Linked DNA regions of Homo sapiens: regions 2, 3 and 4 are each linked to region 1. Evidence: promoter capture Hi-C in 16 types of primary human blood cells and fetal thymus (Javierre and others, 2016). All regions are on one chromosome and are shown on one strand. Each heading gives the region's core, a stretch centred on a gene start or on the middle of the fragment in contact. The rest is flanking DNA. Distances are from core to core; before and after follow the strand shown. Region 1 holds the start of NR2F1-AS1 (NR2F1 regulatory antisense RNA 1). Region 2 overlaps MIR9-2HG (MIR9-2 host gene). Region 3 overlaps MEF2C-AS2 (MEF2C antisense RNA 2). Region 4 overlaps MIR9-2HG (MIR9-2 host gene).

Region 1 (3,256 bases), core at 443-2,942:
GCCCTCACCTACAGGGCCTGACCCCGGGCCAGCCCAGCTAGGCAAGGCCTCCTCGCTTCCGAGACCCCCCAGCCCCCGGGTGCAGTCCCCAGCATCGGCTGCCCCCGCCCCCCGCGCGCCCTCTGACGCAAACGCACGCCCCTGCCCCGCACGGAGGAAAGCGCTCTTGTTGGTTTTAATTGAGCCTCTTCCTTTCAACACACCCCCTCTGTCCCCACCCCTGGGAGGCGACCCCCTCCCCGCCCCCAGCCGGCTGGCAGCGGCGCAGGGAGTCTGGCTCGGCTGCTAGGCTGCGAATCCCGGTGCTCTCTCGCCGCCGCCGCAGGTTGTCTGCTCGGGAGAGCGGCTCGATGTCCCTTTTAATCCGCTGACACTATCGCCCACATCAGACAGGCAGCCATCGATCGCGTTACATTAGGGGATGGCGTTACAAACGGCGTCCGCAGGTGGGCGGCTGCAGCCAAGCTCGCCAGGTTCAGGCCGTAACCAGGCAAGGCGCGGGCACAAGGGCCAGCCGGGCCGGACTCTGCAGCCGGCTCCACCGCGGGTCGCGCTCGGCACCAGCAGGAACAGCCGGGCCGGTGTTAAACGTGCGGGTCCCCGTCCTCCGCCCGGGCATCCGTTTCCCGCCTAGGAGAGAGAGGGAATAGCGGGTGGGGGTGGGAGCAGCCTGTTTTGAATGTGGATTGCTGCTCGCCTGGCACGATCCTCCCCTCCAAGGAGGCGCGGCGGCCGCGATCCTCGCCTTAGCGCTACGGCGAGACAGAGGCCGAGCGAGGGCAACTCCCGAGCAGGCCCCGAAGAAAGTTCTCCTCGTCCCGCCCTGGCTGCCTAGACTCTGCTCTCGGCCTGCGGAGGCCGTGCGAGCCAAGACTGCCTCCCGGCCCTGCCCGTTACCAACCCCAAGTTCAAGAGAAACGACAACCATTATGTTACTTGCCTGGTGAGGCAGGATTTGGCCGAGTCTCGTTTCTGGTGCCCACGACGCACGGTCCAGGGTCCGAGGGCGGCTGGGCCGGCGGACTGGGCATCCAGTGTGCCTGCGGTGCCCTGGCGCTCGCTGTCGCTGGTCTCCCACTCCCTTCGTCTCTCTCCGCGTTCTCCTTCCCTCGCCCTATCTCCCTCTCTCCGCCTGCTGCCTCTGCCCTCGACTCCCTGCCTCTGACTGTATGGGGAGTACGATTTAGAATCTGTACATAGAAAGGTTTTCTTTTCTTTCTTTTCTTTTGGTCTATTTTAATCGTGTTCGTTTCACCTTTTAACTGACCAGAAGACGGGAGCGCGTTTGCGCGTTTATTTGGGCATAGGGACGAGGGCAAGGAGCCCCTGCTACCCCCAGTCGCCTCCTCGCCATCAGCTGCGTACAATGGGCCACCGCTCGCGGAGTGCATTGACAGTTCTCCATTATTCGAGCTGGAGGGGCTGTGGGGCAGGCACGGGAAAACCTTTTATTCTGCTCTTTAAAATCATCGCTCGTCACTAAGCGGTCGCCGACTCCCGACTTGTAGGCTGGAGAGACCAGGAAGCGCAAAACGTCCCCCAAACACGCAGTGCTTCCCAAACCCCTCCCTGGTGAGACTTAAAGTGAGAACGAGTATTAAAAAACAAACCCTACCTCTGTCAATACAGCGTGGCCATTTACTTCCACCTTTACCTGAGGGCGTGTTGGCGCTAGGAATGCTCGAGCTGAGACAAACTTTTACGCCCTCGCGAGTCGAGGGGCGGGCGGGCGAGCGCGGCTCCCACCCCCGGCGGCGGCAGCGGCGGCTTTGTCACTCCGCGCGGCTCCGCGCCCGCCTGAGCCTGCCTAGGGGAGCGATCTCAAAACGAGGGGGGTGCGAGTATGCGATTGGAGAATATGTAACTAATAGAAGTATCATTTTCCCCCAGTACGATCTTTCAAGGAAAAAAAAATCCATTGAAAGAATTTTCAAAGTGCTGTCTTCGTTTGGAGAAAAGGCACAGGCTGCCTGCGGGGAGGGGAGGAGGGACTCGGCTGTGTGCCGCCCGGGAGCGGCTCCCGTCCGCTAGGTGGCAGCCGGAGCCAGCGATTCCTGCAAGCCCCGCCGCGGGACCCGCTCCTCCCGCCTGCCCCTCCTCCCGCGACCAATCACCTTCAGGATTCAGGAATCGGGGTCTCGGTCTCTCTCTCTCTCTCTCTCTCTCTCTCTCTCTCTCTCTCTCTCTCTCTCTCTCTCTCTCTCTCTCCCCCTCTCCCTCTCCCTCTCCCTCTCCTCTCTCCCTCTCCCTCTCCCTCTCCCTCTCCCTCTCCCTCTCCCTCTCCCTCTCGTCTCTCTCTCTCTCTCTCTCCTCTCTCTCTCTCTCTCCTCTCTCTCTCTCTCCTCTCTCCTCTCTCTCTCGGTCTCTCTCTCTCTCTCTGGGTCTCTCTCTCTCTCTCTCTCTCTGGGTCTCTCTCTCTCTCCTCTCTCTCTGGGTCTCTCTCTCTCTCCTCTCTCTCTCTCTCCCCTCTCCTCTCTTCTCTCTCTCTCTCTCTCAATATCTCGCGCGCTCTCCTCTCTCCTCTCTTTCCTTTCCTCTCCTCTCTCTCTGTCTCTCTCTCTCCTCCTCCCCCTTTTCTCTCTCCCTCTCCGCCTCCCCCCCTCTCCATCTTCTCGTTTGTTTGCTCTTTTCCCGGGACTGACTTGGCCACACTAATCTCCCCCCACCCTGCAACAATATGGGGACTTACTACTGTTTTATTAATAATGATTGAAGCATTGTTGGAGTTTGGAACAGCCAGGTGATAAAAAAAAAAAAAAAGAAGAAGGAAAAATTGGATTGATTGGAAAGTTTATTTTTAAAATCATCTTTGGGATAAATAGGAACCCTTGATTCCGATCGAATTTGTGGCAATAGCTGCAAATTCCAGGAGTGTGCTTTGTCATCATTAAACCTTTTAAACCAAGGTATACTTTGGATTAAAAAATAGGGAGATCCTACCCTGTTTCTACTTGTTTCTAAAAAGGATATAAAATGAGCAGAATCCAGACTTGGATTGTGCTTATATGTGAGAGAAGAAAACAATCCAAATCCAGTATATTTCACAAATCATTAAAATGGTGGGGGTTTCATTCCCATTAAAAATTTTTCCAAACATTTTCAATGACACTCTCTTCACGCTCATAAAATCTAATTTTAAAAACTTTTCAGAAGAAATCAAAATAATTTCCCTCTAATTCTCCTTTTGCCCATCGCTAGGCGTTCTCCCCCTCGTCATCCCTTCCCCCTCTGGGGTGTGAGCGTAAGTGTGTGTGTG
Region 2 (3,299 bases), core at 353-2,852, 4.9 Mb before region 1:
ACATCACTTGGATTTTATCAAATGTAAATTTTAAAATTACCTTTGGTTGGTTGGATTGTCTATTCATTTTATGCTTCTTTGCAGTCTCATCTGAAAAATAGTCAAGAAAACAAATGATCACAGTTTATATATATGTATACATATGAAGTCATATAGATATTGCTTCATTTAAAATATTGCTATTAACATGATTCCTTAAAATGCCAGAGATTCCATAAAACCCCAGTACAATGTATCCTAGGTCTCAGCACCCACGGGGTTAAATATGCTAATTTGCATTCAAATGGAGACATGCATGATAATGTGAATGCAAAATATGCAGAATCTGGAGGGGTTTGAGAAATTAATTTTTCTTTCTTCTTTTCTTTTATTTTTAGCTTGGAAGGAAGAGGGACTCTTAAAAAAACATTAGGGACTTGAACCTTGTAACCTGCCATACAAAAGAGGAGAGTCCTTCCATGTAAGGATTTTAAGTCTGGAACAAAGTCTTATTTTCTAAATGTTTAAGGAACTGAATTTCCAGGCCTTTCGAACAATGGCAATCCCTGGATAAATATCTACTCCATTAGAAAGATGCAAATAGTTTACTGTAAGGCCACAGCACCGTGAGATGTGCATTCATATCTATGGCTCCTGATTGGCTCTTTCCTCCAGTAAATCAATGAATAATGTAAAACCTGATTGCTGTAAAGTGGTGGATTTTTGAAAATTTCCCTTCCCCCATTCCCTCTCGATCCAACATTCAGGAATTCAATACTCCCCAAAATAGGTTGTTTTTCTTTTATGATTTTTTAATGCTTATTGTTATTTTGGACTGGAGGGGTGGGGCTATTGGTTTTGCAAAATGAAAGTATTGCCCTGGTTTAATTATGCTGACTGTGGGAGCTCGCTTCCTGAGACAGCGCCCTAATTACCGGTGCCAAGGTGGAGAAAGGAGGGTGGTAGACAGAGGTGGACACCAAGAAAGGGAGGAAACGGAACCCGACTCTGCGGTGCTGGGCCCAAGGCAGCCACAGCTCCAAAGGGGCCCCCGGCCGTGGCCGTGACTTGACAGAGCCTCCGGTCTAACTTCTGATCAATTCCACTGCTCTCCTGACCCCTCAAGACAGTCCCCCATTCAAGCACCGCGGGTACATTTGCAAGATAAAACGCCGCAGACACTAATGCAAATACATTGCCCGAGTTCCCATCACCCTGGGTTCCTGCAGATAATTCCAGGCCACAGAAAGGAGTTCTTGCCTTCCTCAGCCGGGTCTAGACTCTAAGCAAACCGCAAAGACCTAGCTCCGTTTGGATACCAGAAGCGTCTTAAGCTGAACCGCTCCAAGTACCAATAACTAACCATGATGGTTGCATCTTGATGAATCTGAACTTGGGATAACCCTGTAAAGCGGCCTCTCACCTCCCAAAATTCAAAAGGCAAAGAGAAAAGGGAAGTGGAAAGCCACCAGATCTACTTAGCTACTGTACTAAGTTTTCCACCAAAATCTAATCAGACCCTCGCTTCCTTGCCAGGTAATTGCAACTTTGGGGCGGTTAAAGGGAGGCGAATTCTTCAAAATGCGAATTCGAATACAGAAGTGCAAAATACAAGTGCATTTTGCTCTAGGTTTAAAAGGGAAAAGCCCCCCCAAACACACCACCACCACCACCACCACAAAATTACATACAAAAATTCCCTTTTCCAACGCGAAGATTTCCTGGCATCTCTCTGCGATTGGGGGTCAAGCCGCTGGATAATTAACAGTACTGGCTAAGAAAACTCACGAGATCAACAGGTTTAACATCCGAGGCACACAATCAATTAGCTGAAGCAAAGCCCCGGACTGGCCCTCGGAGCGGCCCGCAGCGGGACTCTGCGGGCACCGGCTAGCGGGCGAGGTGAGGAGTGCGGGCGCGGGGCCGCGGCGGGCACTGCTGGCCTCGCGCCGCGGGCGAGCTGCAGCCTGAGGGCCGCCACGATACTCACTTGATCTCCCTGCGCCAGGCAATGCTGCCCCCCAAATCCAGCTGGGCAGGAACCGAGGCGCCGGCTGAAAGACAAGATCCAAAGTCACAGCACGGCCGCAGCACACAAACAGGCTTCTTTCGGCGTCTCCAAAAAAAAAAAAAAAAATGTTTTTCTCATCATTCCTCTCCCCTGCTCAACACATTTAAAACTGCCGCTCAATTCCACATGGTGATTCTTGGTTGATTGCGTCTAAAATAGTTTAAATGGGTCTTCCCTTCTGGGGAGAGGGAGAAGGGCGCAAAAGACCAAGGAGTAAAAAAAAAGCCAACTTTTACCCCCCATGCCAGGCACTTGCTCCCTGAGCCTCGGAGTGGAGAGTGAAGTGGTGTGTGCGAGGCTTGGCAAGTTTTTGGGGGGGCTGTCCAAGGTCTAGTCCAGCCCCCTCTGCCGAGGAGGACGTGCTCTGAAACTCAACCAATTTCCCCACTGCTTTTGTTACTGATGAACTGAAGCCCTATTGTTCATCCATTGCCACGGTCTTTTTCAGTCCCCACACTACGTTCTGCGTTGCCAGAGATAATGAATTTGCACCCAAACCTCTCATAGTCCCCTCCTGACAGACGGAACAAATTAGAAATGTCTCGTCTGAAGGAAGGCAATGGCTACATTTTCCTATTGTAGGATGCAAAGCACACATTTCTTTGGAAACTTCTTTTGCTTTTTTCTTTTTTTTAAAATCCTTTTCTTCTCTTTTTCTTTTTTCCTCCAGTTTTTTTTTCTCTCTCTTGGTTTCTTAAGATTCTTCTTTTTTTTTTATTACAGAATCTCCCTGTCGTTTTTCCAATGCACTGTTTTATGTAACTTGTGAGTCTTCCTAACCTTCTTCCCCTTCTTTCCTCTCCTTTCTTAAGGACTCCCTTTGCAATTTTATTTACAAACTTGGAGAATGACCTTTTGACTCGCAGACTTTTTTTTTTTTAAAGGTCTTTTGGTTCAAGTCCCCCTTCTTCACTCCTCCCCGTTTGTGTCGTGGTTGTTAAATGTGTTTAGCTAAAGACAAGCAATGCATTCTAAAGAATTTTATTCTCTAAACTCTAGAGGTATTCTAAATGTACCAGGGACGCGCCATAGGGGTCATCTATTTGAGGAGGAAGAAAAAGCGGGTGTGTGTGTGTGTGTGTGTGTGTGTGTGTGTGCGCGCGCGCGCGCGCGTCTGCCTTCCACGGAAAGAGAGACGGAGAGATGTGGGAGGGTGGGGGTGGAAGTATGCAGACAGAGAAGGGTGGGGGCTTCGAGGGGAAGGTGGGCTTCCTGCAACACAAGCGGAGAGGCTGTCAGGGGTGTGGGC
Region 3 (3,465 bases), core at 678-3,177, 4.9 Mb before region 1:
ACGGCCTCAGGTGAGTGGCTCAGGGAAGGGTCGCTGAGGCTCTTCCCAGGGCCCCCGGGCCTCTCTTGGGCCGCTCCCTGGGAGTGCTTTAACCTCTGCCGCCATTCCGCTTCGTCTTTTCCTGCAATAACACCTGCTGCCACGGATTGAGTACACCTGACCAGATGTAGTCAAAATAAAAGGTCAAGAAAAGAAAAGGAAAGCCCCACCTTTCTTAATTCCGTTTGGAAAGAGCCAGAGCTGCCAAATCCATTACATAATGCCAGTTCAAGCTGACACCTGTGCCTGCCCTGGAGCTAGATCAGGTTCTGGCGACTGCTCCAACCTGGAACGCCGGCTCAGTAGCGCCCAAGCCGAAGGCGAAGGGGAAGAGGAACGAAGTGTGGGATGGGGGGCGGCCCCTCATTGGGGGTTCAGGTAGGGATTGGATTCTGCAGGGAATGCTCCAAGGGTTGCTCCCTAATAATTTGGGACTGCGATAAAAAAAAAATAGCCGCAGTTTCGAAGTCCCAGAGCTTTATCAGGAAGCATTGGACGCCCCTTTCTCCTCCAGACTGGGGCGGGCTTCCAGGGATGCCCCCTCCGACCCCGTCACCAGCGGAGGACTCATCTGCCGCGGGGCTGCCGGAAGCTCTCACTCCCGCCAGCCCCCTGGGTGCTATTGATGCGGACCTTGGAGGTGCCTGCGGCGTGGCCTAACACGTGGACGCGGCCCATAACCCGCCCCGGCTGCTGCTTTCGCCTGAAGGCGGACAATGGCTTTATTAATCGGCCATCATTAAACTAACCCAGGAGAAGCCCCATCCCGCAATGAGGGCGCGGCAGGCTAATTTTGCCTACGGCTGAACAGTTGGGGCAAACGGTGGTTAACACGCTGGATCCCTCTCTAGTGAAGGCCCGACCGTCCCGATCTTTGGGGTCCGCACCAATGATCCCATGAAAAACAAAGGTCAGTCCCCAAACTCCTAGGAATCCACACTGTTCCTCTCCAAACTTCCTGCTCCCCGCTAAGGCAAAAGACCCCGAGCCTTGTAAACCCTTTTGTCAGAACGCGAATTAATGTTTCCAAGATTTTTTCTCAAAAGAATTAAGAGCTCTAGAGGCGCCTCTTCCACTCACTAGGGCACCATGTCAAAGGGACTCGTCATGGCGATTTACAAATATCACGATCGTGGACAGCGCTATTGGAATGTAACTTGGGCTTGGTTTCATGCAGTCCTTAAGGATTTCGTTGAGGCCCTGGAGACGTGACTAATTCCTCCCAGTCCATAGTGGGAAATGCTTATTGGGCTTTGGTTGAGATAAAATAAAATAAAATAAAAGCTAGACCCAAAGCTTCGTGTGGACCTTAAACACACACACACACACACACACACACACGCACAATAAGCAAGAGTCAGTGACCTTCTCTGGACATCGCAGCCACCCCCCTAGCTCCCGCGTTAAAATCACCAGAGTCAATTCCCGGCGTCGGTCTCCACAGTCAACCCCCGCCCCTTCCCCATTTCTCATCAAAAGGCAGGAGAAACGTCATATTTTATATTTCTTTTCTCCACATCTGGGCATTTTCTTGTGCATCATATCCTAAACAAATATTCTCCTTTTACATTCGTGTGCGCCTAGGACGGTGTGGACCTGCGCCCCTCTTCCCCGTAGCGACCGTGTTGGAGAAACTCGCTCGGAGGACCAGTGTGCTGCGGGGGCCAAAACTCACGCTGCCCAGCCTTGAAGAGCTGGAGAACGGAGCCGGGCCCCGCCGAACCTGCGCTCGCAGAGAATGTTATCTTCACAGCAACTTAGCAAGCCCCACAGAACAAAAGTTAAAGCGTGATTGCACTATACCTTGCCCCGGGTTACTCAGGCGCCTGTCTCCCATTTTGGACATGCAGGAAATGTTGGATTTGGGGAGGTTTGATTTGGCTGGGTTTGGTTTGTCTATATAAGCCCTGCTGGAGTACTGTACTGAGGAACGCGCCTTGATGGACTCGGGTGTTAATTAACGCGCTAATTTGAGCTTCAGGAGCGGGAGGCGGCCGGTAGCACCGCGAGCCGCGAGGGGCCAGTGACCTCTAGTGGACATGAGGAGATATGCAGCGCGAGTGAGCGTGTAGCAGAGAAAACTCTTTCCTGAGCAGCTGCTCGCGTGTCTCCTCTGAATCCAATGCAAGGGAGGGACACAAGTCCCCAATTTAAGGGAGAAAGAGCCGTCAGCAAGTGGTGTCGACCAAAGACCTTAGCTCTTCTGATGTATCTGAAATCTAAACGCAATTTAAGCGCGCGTGCACACACACATTGTTACTTATCAGTTTTTCCAGCGAGAGAAGAACATATGGAAAGGGTTTGAGAAGTGAGCGTGAATAACTTTGGTTTCTGAACCTAGAGAAAAGCAGGGCTTTCAAAGCTCCGGAGGCACCAGCGATTCAGGGGAAGGAGTCGGAGTGTGATTCTGTAAACAAAGTTCATCAGTACTCCCAAGATTTTTTTTTTTTTCTGTAAAGAATTGAGAAAAAAAAAACGTAAAAAGCTTAGTTGGGTCAACAACAAGAAAGTAATCGAACAAATGATGTGTGGAAAGGTCCAGATGCTCCTGAGTTCACACCCCTCAGGCAAATAAGAAGACAAAAATAAGAACAAAAGAACCCCTTCGCTTAACAAAAATAAAATAAAGGCCAAGAGGAGAAAATGATCTGTTTTGGTTTTTTAACCTTCATTTATTTCATTGGTTAGTTAAACTACTGCAGAAATTTTTGGAAAGATCGTCCTGGTGCTTCTGCAAGCGCCAAAAGCAAACCATGGACCTGATAGTTCAGGCAGAATACCATTTTTTAAAATAAACCAAAGTCTGTATTTTATCCTTCCCCATTCCACAGACCGCAGCAGACTGTGGAAGCTGGCGAGGCCCAGTAGAATCCCGCGACCCCACAGCCTCAGCGCTCAGGGTTCCACGGTCCAGTACAGGCTAAACTGACCTCGCCGACGGCCGCGCCCACTTGGGCACTTCTCCCGGGTCTTGTTCTACGGGCGTTTGAGGATTTCTTAGTCTCTTTCTTCCCTGGCACTCTTCCTCCGAGGCCAGAAGTCTGAATTACTAGCAGCTACCAGCCGCTTGGAGCGGGAACGTGGAGGTGATCCCCTCCCCGGGAGTAGCCTGTCCGTCCCAGCTCTCCTCCCTTCTGTGCCTGGCGGTTTTGCGGTACCCGAATCTGTCCTCAAGGGTTGGGGGAGGGGTGGATATGGGGGGATCAGAGACATTACCTTTTCCCAAACTGTGAGCACAGCCCGCTTGGGGTTGGTTTCACATCGCTCAGGACTGGGGTTCCACGCCTGGAGCGCAGTTACCTTGTTGCGCCCGCATGTGCCTCGGGAAGTGCATCTGCGACCCTAGGTCGGGGACCACCGCGTTAGTGAGGGACAGCCGAGTCGGGGGGCAGTCTCCCCTGGTGGACAGTATGAAGTTTGGACAGC
Region 4 (3,116 bases), core at 526-3,025, 4.9 Mb before region 1:
AGAAATTATTTCCTGCATAATGGCATTCGCAGCAACCTGAATGGAATTGGAGATATTATTCTAAGTGAAGTAATTCAGGAGTGGAAAACTAAACATTTTATGTTCTCACTCATAAGTGGGAGCTAAGCTATGAGAATGCAGAGGCATAAGAGTGATACAATAGACTTGGGGGACTCGGGGAAAGGGTGGGGGGGCAAGGGATAAAAAAAAACTACACAGAGGGTACAGTGTATACTCTTCAGGTGATGGGCACACCAGAATCTCAGAAATCATGACTAAAGAACTTATTCATGTAACCAAACACCATCTGTTCCCCCAAAAACCTACTGATTTTTCTTTCTTTGAGATGGAGACTCGCTCTGTCGCCCGGGTTAGGGTGCAATGGTGCCATCTCAGCTCACTGCAATCTCTGCCTCCCGGATTCAAGAGATTCTCATGCCTCAGCCTCCCAAGTAGCTGGGATTACAGGCACCTGCCACCACGCATGGCTAATTTTTTTTTGAAACAGAGTCTCACCCTGCCCAGGCTGGAGCACATTTTTATGGTTTTAGTAGAGATGGGGTTTCACCATGTTGTCCAGGCTGGTCTCAAACTCCTGACCTTAAATGATCTGCCCGCCTCAGCCTCCCAAAGTGCTGGGATTACAGGCGTGAGCCACTGCACCTGGCCAAAATCTATCGAATTTTTTTTAAAAAAAGAAAAGAAATTATTTCCTGTAGCTTTTTCTTTGAACTTGGATGCATAATTATGGAAGTGAAGCATGCAAAGAATCACATTCATATCACAGTGTTTTGCCCTCTACCCTTCTGTCTTTTATAGTCTTGAATAGAGAACCAAGAGAAATCAAGTCAAGATTTTTAGCTTCTATTAAACCCAAATAGGTTCATTAATCTCATGTAAATTGATGGACAAGTATATGTATCTCATTATAGGTTTTTTAAATGTAATCATTATGCTTTCATGTATTAAGGTGTCACTTTAAGCATTACTTCCTCAAGTAAGTCTTGCCTGGCCACCCATTCTAAAGTAAGTCCCCTTTTATGTTTTATTTATCATAACACTGATAACTATCTGATATTTTCTTTTATTTACTTGTTTACTATCTTTCCTCTTTAAAATGTAGATTCCATAATCAGAAATCAGTAGGACCAAAAGTAGTAACAGGTTCTCAATAAATACTTATTAAATGAAGAAATAAGCTTATATTTTTTAAAAGGAATTCCTATGAACTTGAGCATATAATGGATAACTTGATAATCATGTTTAATTTATGTGTTTATGAAGCATTACTTACATTCCAATTATTTCTAGAATTATATGAACAGTCTCCAACTAGTCTCTCCTCCCTTTCTTTCAACATAACATATTCTTAAATGTGGCAAACTGCAGACATTTTGTGAGGACTTGTTTCAATAACTGAACACACATTAAACAGCTAAAATAAGTTGTCTTCAAAAGCAAATTGCAAACAGCTAAAATAAGTTGTTTTCAAAAGGAAATTACAAAGAGTGACTGTTTCCAGATGTAAACTACTCCATGAGTGACATCTGCTTATTCCTTCCCCCAGTGTCAGTGTCCATACTTGGGCTTGCTATTCTCTGCTCTCTATACTTTCCTTGGCAAACTTCACATATTTTATCATTTTAACCTAATCACAAATGTCTATTGATGCCTTCCAAATAGAATCATACTCCTATATCTGGACTTTCTGATTAACTGGATGATACTGCAAACTCCCCACTTCTGAAAGGAGTTGATTGTTTTTCCTTCCACCCTCCTTCTTCTAGCCACCAAAGCCACTATGGTACTAAGACAAAACGTTAGGTCAAAAAATCTACATGTTGTTCTTTTTAAAATGTCTCTATCACATGTCTTCTCTTCTTTGTTCCCAACTTCAGGTTTCATCACCTTCTCAGATTATTTCAACAGTCTCCAACTATTTCCCTAATTCCCTACTAGGCCCATTGTGGCTCACCTGAATACTGATTACGGTGAAACTTCTTTAAATGCTACTTACCTCATTTTGTTTATGTGGTCATATTTTGTATCATAACACCTTTAAGATTCACTACAAACACCCTAGTCCAACCCACAATCATCTTTTAACAATTACCTCTGCTACATAACTACTTTTCCCTCAACCACACTTTTCTTACTCTACATCAGGGGTGTCCAATCTTTTGGCTTCCCTGGACCACATTGGAAGAATAATCGTCTCGGGCCACACATAAAATACACTAAGACTAATGATAGCTGATCAGCTTTTAAAAAAATCACCAAAAGAATCTCATGTGTTGGGTTGCATTCAAAGCCATCCTGGGCCACATGCAGCCCATGGGCCATGGGTTGGACAAGCTTGCTCTTCATACTTCAGACAGAATGATCTGTTTAAAGTGTAAATAAATCCAAACATGCCACTCCCTTGTTTATAATCATTCAGTGGCTTTCCACCACACTTAGGTCAAAGATCAAAACCCCACAAAGTCTGTCTCCCTCTCTAACCTCATCTTAGTCCATCCTACCTGATTTCCATATATTTCTGTACTCTAATCACACTGAGCTTAAAGTTCCTCAAAATGAAAGCCTTCTTCCTACCTGGGGGCCTTGACATGTGTTGTCTCCTTATCTATAAAGGTCTGCCTGACCCCTTCCCTTTGCTCAGTCATCTACTCCTCCTCTAGTTAACCCTGTCAAACGTTACATCTTAAGGGAAAATTTCCTAACTCCAGTCCTTGTCTCAGACTAGTTACATATTCTCATAATTTTATGTACTTCTTCATTACAAAATGTATCATTCCATAACTAATTAGTTAATTGTGTAATTGTGTAATTGCTGTTTAAAGTCTAGCTTCCCGACTAGAATATTTCATGAGATAGGGCATGAATTGGATTTGGTTTACCACTGTTCTCCCATGCTTGGTGCAGCACTTTGCACACAGTAGCTGTTCAATAAATATTTGTTGAATATATCAAAGAAGAAATCTGAAGTAACTATCTGTAATTTCTATCATCAAGTCTCCCTGCTGGCCAAGTTTCAAGAATATAAATAATCTGGCCTTATTCCATCTATCCACAAATATAATCATCACTACTGAATATAAAACTCTACTGTCTTC

Evidence for each region. The method cuts DNA at HindIII sites, captures the fragments that hold promoters and counts their contacts. A CHiCAGO score of 5 or more calls a contact.
Region 2: a fragment that was not itself captured here is called in contact with the fragment with the promoter of NR2F1-AS1 in region 1 in 2 of 17 cell types (total B cells and naive B cells); the score reaches 40.4 in total B cells.
Region 3: a contact is called between a fragment that was not itself captured here and the fragment with the promoter of NR2F1-AS1 in region 1, in 2 of 17 cell types (total B cells and naive B cells). The highest score is 30.3, in total B cells.
Region 4: a fragment that was not itself captured here is called in contact with the fragment with the promoter of NR2F1-AS1 in region 1 in 1 of 17 cell types (total B cells); the score reaches 5.4 in total B cells.

What each region holds. Positions count from the first base shown.
Region 1 is chr5:93,579,527-93,582,782 of GRCh38, forward strand. It overlaps NR2F1-AS1 (NR2F1 regulatory antisense RNA 1), which reads right to left and starts at 1,693. Exons shown (of 8, transcript NR_186187.1): 1 at 1,616-1,693. RefSeq lists an enhancer at 1,869-1,968 and a silencer at 2,089-2,138. The HindIII fragment of the contact is 7,751 bases long and covers 1-3,256 here.
Region 2 is chr5:88,670,996-88,674,294 of GRCh38, forward strand. It overlaps MIR9-2HG (MIR9-2 host gene), which reads right to left. Exons shown (of 4, transcript NR_152235.1): 2 at 41-90. Among named protein-coding and RNA genes, the nearest start is that of MEF2C-AS2, 3.6 kb to the right of the region's middle. RefSeq lists enhancers at 670-1,282, 1,283-1,896. The HindIII fragment of the contact is 7,016 bases long and covers 1-3,299 here.
Region 3 is chr5:88,689,071-88,692,535 of GRCh38, forward strand. The region is part of intron 1 of MEF2C-AS2 (MEF2C antisense RNA 2); the gene reads left to right. It overlaps GSCAR (glioma stem cell association long noncoding RNA), which reads right to left. Exons shown (of 3, transcript XR_007058863.1): 3 at 2,687-3,465. It also overlaps a transcript of MIR9-2HG not described here. Among named protein-coding and RNA genes, the nearest start is that of MIR9-2HG, 6.0 kb to the left of the region's middle. RefSeq lists enhancers at 207-885, 886-1,565 and a silencer at 2,121-2,347. The HindIII fragment of the contact is 1,189 bases long and covers 1,334-2,522 here.
Region 4 is chr5:88,649,350-88,652,465 of GRCh38, forward strand. All of the region lies in intron 2 of MIR9-2HG (MIR9-2 host gene), which reads right to left. Among named protein-coding and RNA genes, the nearest start is that of MIR9-2, 16 kb to the right of the region's middle. The HindIII fragment of the contact is 1,156 bases long and covers 1,198-2,353 here.